2 separate regions of the Homo sapiens genome follow, and region 1 is linked to region 2. Evidence: promoter capture Hi-C in human tissues and cell types (Jung and others, 2019). All regions are on one chromosome and are shown on one strand. The core of a region is centred on a gene start or on the middle of the fragment in contact, and the rest is flanking DNA. Distances in the headings are between cores, read along the strand shown.

The links. Contacts are between HindIII fragments. The study calls those that stand out against the background at their distance.
Region 1: a contact is called between a fragment that was not itself captured here and the fragment with the promoter of SLC1A2 in region 2, in 2 of the 25 tissues and cell types used here (H1 embryonic stem cells and aorta).

Annotation. Positions count from the first base shown.
Region 1 is chr11:35,023,505-35,026,204 of GRCh38, reverse strand. All of the region lies in intron 3 of LOC105376626 (a long non-coding RNA gene), which reads left to right. Among named protein-coding and RNA genes, the nearest start is that of MIR1343, 83 kb to the right of the region's middle. The HindIII fragment of the contact is 5,690 bases long and covers 1-2,700 here.
Region 2 is chr11:35,418,195-35,420,894 of GRCh38, reverse strand. It overlaps SLC1A2 (solute carrier family 1 member 2), which reads left to right and starts at 1,337. Exons shown (of 11, transcript NM_004171.4): 1 at 1,337-1,945. The coding sequence starts at 1,929. It overlaps SLC1A2-AS2 (SLC1A2 antisense RNA 2), which reads right to left and starts at 1,838. Exons shown (of 2, transcript NR_186310.1): 1 at 1,788-1,838; 2 at 1-359. RefSeq lists an enhancer at 1,191-1,691. The HindIII fragment of the contact is 13,805 bases long and covers 1-2,700 here.

The sequences.
Region 1 (2,700 bases), core at 94-2,593, 390 kb after region 2:
CATGTCATCTGCAAACAGAGACAATCTGACTTCCTCTCTTCCTATTTGAATACGCTTTATTGCTTTCTCTTGCCTGATTTCCCTGGCCAGAACTTCCAATACTATGTTGAATAGGAGTGGTGAGAGAGGGCATCATTGTCTTGTGCCAGTTTTCAAAGGGAATGCTTCCAGTTTTTGCCCATTCAGTATGATATTGGCTGTGGGTTTGTCATAAATAGCTCTTATTATGTCGAGATACGTTCCTTCGATACCTAGTTTATTGAGAGTTTTCAGCATGAAAGGCTGTTGAATTTTGTCGAAGGCCTTTTCTGCATCTATTGAGATAATCATGTGGTTTTTGTCATTGGTTCTATTTATGTGATGGATTATATTTATTGATTTGCGTTATGTCGAGCCAGCCTTGCATCCCAGGGATGAAGCCAACTTGATTGTGGTGAATAAGCTTTTTGATGTGCTGCTGGATTCGGTTTGCCAGTATTTTATTGAGGATTTTCGCATTGATGTTCATCAGGGATATTGGCCTAAAATTCTTTTCTTGTTGTGCCTCTACCAGGCTTTGGTATCAGAATGATGCTGGCCTCACAAAATGAGTAAAGGAGGATTCCCTCTTTTTCAATTGATTGGAATAGTTTCAGAAGGAATGGTACCAGCTCCTCTTTGTACCTCTGGTAGAATTCAGCTGTGAATCTGTCTGGTCCTGGACGTTTTTTGGTTGGTAGGCTATTAATTATTGCCTTAATTTCAGAACCTGTTATTGGTCTATTCAGTGATTCAACTTCTTCCTGGTTTAGTCTTGGGAGGGTGTATGTGTTCAGAAATTTATCCATTTCTTCTAGATTTTCTAGTTTATTTGTGTAGAGGTGTTTATAGTATTCTCTGATGGTGGTTTGTGTTTCTGTGGGATCGGTGGTGATATCCCCTTTATCATTTTTTATTGCATCTATTTGATTCTTCTCTCTTTTCTTCTTTATTAGTCTTGCTAGCAGTCTATCAATTTTGTTGATCATTTCAAAAAACCATCTCCTGGATTCATTGATTTTTTGAAGGGATTTTTGTGTCTCTATCTCGTTCAGTTCTGCTGTGATCTTAGTTATTTCTTGTCTTCTGCTAGCTTTTGAATTTGTTTGCTCTTGCTTCTTTAGTTCTTTCAATTGTGACGTTAGGGTGTCGATTTTAGATCTTTCCTGCTTTCTCTTGTGGGCATCTAGTGCTATAAATTTCCCTCTACACACTGCTTTAGCTGTGTCCCAGAGATTCTGGTATGTTGTGTCTTTGTTCTTATTGGTTTCAAAGAACATCTTTATTTCTGCCTTCATTTCGTCATTTACCCAGTAGTCTTTCAGGAGCAGGTTGTTCAATTTCCATGTAGTTGTGTGGTTTTGAGTGAGCTTCTTAATCCTGAGTTCTAATTTGATTGCACTGTGGTCTGAGAGACAGGTTGTTGTGATTTCTGTCCTTTTACATTTGCTGAGGAGTGTTTTACTTCCAATTATGTGGCCAATTTTAGAGAAAGTGCAACGTGGTGCTGAGAAGAATGTATGTTCTGTTGATTTGGGGTGGAGAGTTCTGTAGATGTCTATTAGGTCTGCTTGATCCAGAACTGAGTTCTAGTCTTGGATATCCTTGTTAATTTTCTGTCTCATTGATATGTCTAATATTGACAGTGGGGTGTTAAAGTCTTCCATTATTATTCTGTGGGAGTATAAGTCTCTTTGTAGGTCTCTAAGAACTAGCTTTATCAATCTGGGTGCTCCTGTATTGGGTGCATATATATTTAGGATAGTTAACTCTTCTTGTTGAATTGATCCCTTTACCATTATGTAATGGCCTTCTTTGTCTCTTTTGATCTTTGTTGCTTTAAAGTCTGTTTTATCAGAGACCAGGATTGAAACCTCTCCTTTTTTGCTTTCCATTTGCTTAGTGGGTAGATCTTCCTCCATCCCTTTATTTTGAGCCTATTTGTGTCTTTGCAAGTGAGATGGGTCTCTTGAATACAGCACAGCAATGAGTCTTGACTCTTTATCCAGTTTGCCAGTCTGTGTCTTTTAATTGGGGCATTTAGGCCATTTACATTTAAGGTTAATATTGTTATATGTGAATTTGATCCTGTCATTATGATGCTAGCAGGTTATTTCGCCCATTAATTAATGTAGTTTCTTCATAGCATCGATGGTCTTTACAATTTGGCATGTTTTTGCAGTGGTTGGTACTAGTTTTTCCTATCCACGTTTAGTGCTTCCTTCAGGAGCTCTGTAAGGCAGGCCTGGTGGTGACAAAATCTCTCAGCGTTTGCTTGTCTGTAAAGGATTTTATTTCTCCTTCACTTATGAAGCTTAGTTTGGCTGGATATGATATTCTGGGTTGAAAATTCTTTTCTTTAAGAATGTTGAATAGGGGCCCCCACTCTCTTCTGGTTTGTAGGGTTTCTGCAGAGAGATTTGCTGTTAGTCTGATGGGCCTCCCTTTGTGTGTAACGCAGCCTTTGTCTCTGGTTGCCCTTAACATTTTTTTCCTTCATTTCAACCTTGATGAATCTAAAAATTATATGTCTTGGGGTTGTTCTTCTTGAGGAGTATCTTTGTGGTGTTCTCTCTATTTCCTGAATTTGAACGTTGGCCTGCCTTTCTAGATTGGGGAAGTTCTCCTGGATAATATCCTGAAGAGTGTTTTCTAACTTGGATCCATTCTCCCCGTCACTTT
Region 2 (2,700 bases), core at 88-2,587:
CTGAAAATGCACTGAATATTTTTGGAGGGTTTACTGGGTGCCAGACGCCACTTTAGGAGTTTTACATATCCTCTCCATTTCATTTAGTTCTCTTAGCACAGAGAAGTGGGAGAAGATAGTCCCATTTTACAGGTGGGATGAAGAGAGAGATGGAGGAATTTGCCCCAGGTTACTCAGCTAGAAGGTGGTGAAGAACTCAAGCCTTCGGATATCAGCGCCTGGCATTTAACTACCAATCGGTCCTGCTGGGACTCCGGCTCCTCTGGCACCATCCCCGGGACCTACTCAGAGAGTTTGCACGTGGCCGGTCGCGTTCCATCGTCTAACAAGGTCCAGCACAGCGCAAATCCGAAGATCGTCTACCCCGGGGAAAAAGAGAGTCTGTTTAATTCTCCTGTGGCCCTCCAAGTGAGTTCTTTTGGGTTCCATTGCCTAGACGAGGAAAGTGAGGCTTTGCCTGCTCTGCGCTCACAGGGTCGGCAAGTAGTGGGACCCTAGGTTCCTGCAGTATTCCAGAGATAATCAAAGCTGCACAGGTCTCGTCATTTTTATGCAAAGGCGTCCGGAAGGCTCGAACTCTCCCTTGCACAAGCCCATCTGTCTCTGTGCGCCGCCCCCGGGACACGGAAGCAGGCGGCGAGCAGCGCCGAGTGGGTGGAGAACCGTCCCCCGCCACTCACCCCTCGGCCAACTCTCCGCGCCTTCTCAGCCGGCACCCACGAGGCCGACCTCTCTCGGCCTAAAAAAAAAAAAAAAAAATCCCGGCCTCCCCTGCACCCCGCCCGCCGCCCCCAGGGAGCTGCATTAATATTAATCTCGCTGAATAATTGAAGGCCAGAGATTTATTCGAGCTTCGGCGGGGGAGGGAGCGCAGCTGGGCCGCGTTTAGGCTGCACCACCCGCGTGTTTCAGCCGCTCGACTCCGCTGGACCTGGGACCCCCAGACGTGGGAGGATGGGGTGGGTGTGCCTGCCTGTGAGTTTGGGGGTGAGTGTGAGCTGAAGCGGGTGCTCCGGGGAGTGAGGAGGGAGCGCCAGGGGCTGCTCCAGGGAGGCGGAGACGGAGGGGCATCCCGGGTCTCCGCGCGGTCGCCTGCGCTTCACCCCGCACGGGGTGACCTGGGGCCACGCGGGCTTCAGGGGAAACAATAGCTACTCCTTAGATCCTGGGCTCCTGCCACCGGCTGCCCAAGCCTTCCCGGACGAGCGGCGGGGCCTCTTTTCTTATTTGGCTAATTTATGGCGAGAGGCTGGGGGGAGGGATGGCAGAGGAGGGACCGCGACTGGAGATGGGGGCGGGGGGCGGCGGTTAAAGGAGTTGCCCGAGGCGGCGGCGCGGGTGATGTCAGCTCTCGACGAAAATAGAGAGGGATCGCCTGCAAATCCCCAGCTCCGGCGGGGCTAAACCTTGCAATCCCTCCCTGGCCGGCGCCGAGCCAGAGCGCAGCGGCCTCCACCGCCTCCCCAGGCGCGCACACACCCGCACACGCGCACGCACGCTCACCGTCCTCTGCCACCACTCTCTGCTCCCGCCACTCGCCGCGCCCGCGAGCCCCGCAGCAAAGCACAGGTGGCAGCGGCTGCAGGGGCGCATCGCCGGCGTGCGCCCTCCTGCAGCCCTGGGCGCATCGCTCTCTCGGGGAAGCCACCCTCGGAGCCCCCGGAGCTCCCCGCCAAGCGCCATCCCCGCGGGCGGAGGGGAGCGCGGGTCGCGCGCCGTGGAGAGCCGGGACGCGGATTAGCGCCCGCAGGAGCCTCCTGCGCCCGTTGAGGCGCTAAAGGGCTTACCCCGGAGGCGGGTGGAAGGGCGGGCAGAGGCTCCTCTTAAATACCGCTCCCGGCCGCACTTCGCGCTCACCCCGGCGTCCGCTTTCTCCCTCGCCCACAGCTGCCGGATAGTGCTGAAGAGGAGGGGGCGTTCCCCAGACCATGGCATCTACGGAAGGGTGAGGGGATTTTTATCTGTACCCGCGGGAAAGCGGGGTCACGCGCGGGGTGGTGGCGCCCCTATCCGGGATGCGGATAGAGAGGCGGCGGCGGCGGGCCTCGGAGGTGGTGGCGGAGCCGTAGCTTGGCTGGGGATGGGATGGTGGGGAGGGGATTGATTTTCTTTCCTGGAGATTGCTGCTTAATCCTTTGAAAATGCGAGAGGTGGAGGGTTGTTTTATTTTGATAAAAAGGGTAAGGTGCGCTGGGGGCCTGAGAGTGTGAGGAAGAAATCCTCTTGAGGTTACTTTTGGGATTTCAAAACAATAGGGGATTGGGCATAGTGTGAGCAGACACCGGGGTAGCAGCGCCTGGAGCGCGGCGCCCCAGGCCCGAGGCGGGCTTGCAGGTGGTGCCGGCTCGGAAGGAATGAGCCAAGACAGGGCCCTGGGGCGGGGCAAGGACCAGCGCGCGCGGCCTTGAACGCCAGGTTTGCAGAGTCGCCATGGAGATGCTGGGCCCGCTCCGATCGGTCCTTGTCCCTGGAAGGCGGAATCTCCCTGGCTAGCTCTAAGGAAGGGTGGAAGAGATTTGGGTGCTTCCCGGGAGGCGGGAAAACGTGTGGTTTGGGACAAGGGCAGGAGTCGCCAGACTCCAGCGGGCAGGGATAGCATTGGCTTCCCTATTCAGCCCGAGGATCTGGAGTCGTGTCCTGCCTCCCAAGATTCCAGCTGGCATGGGGAAAGCTCCCTCGCAGTGATAACTAAAGACAATT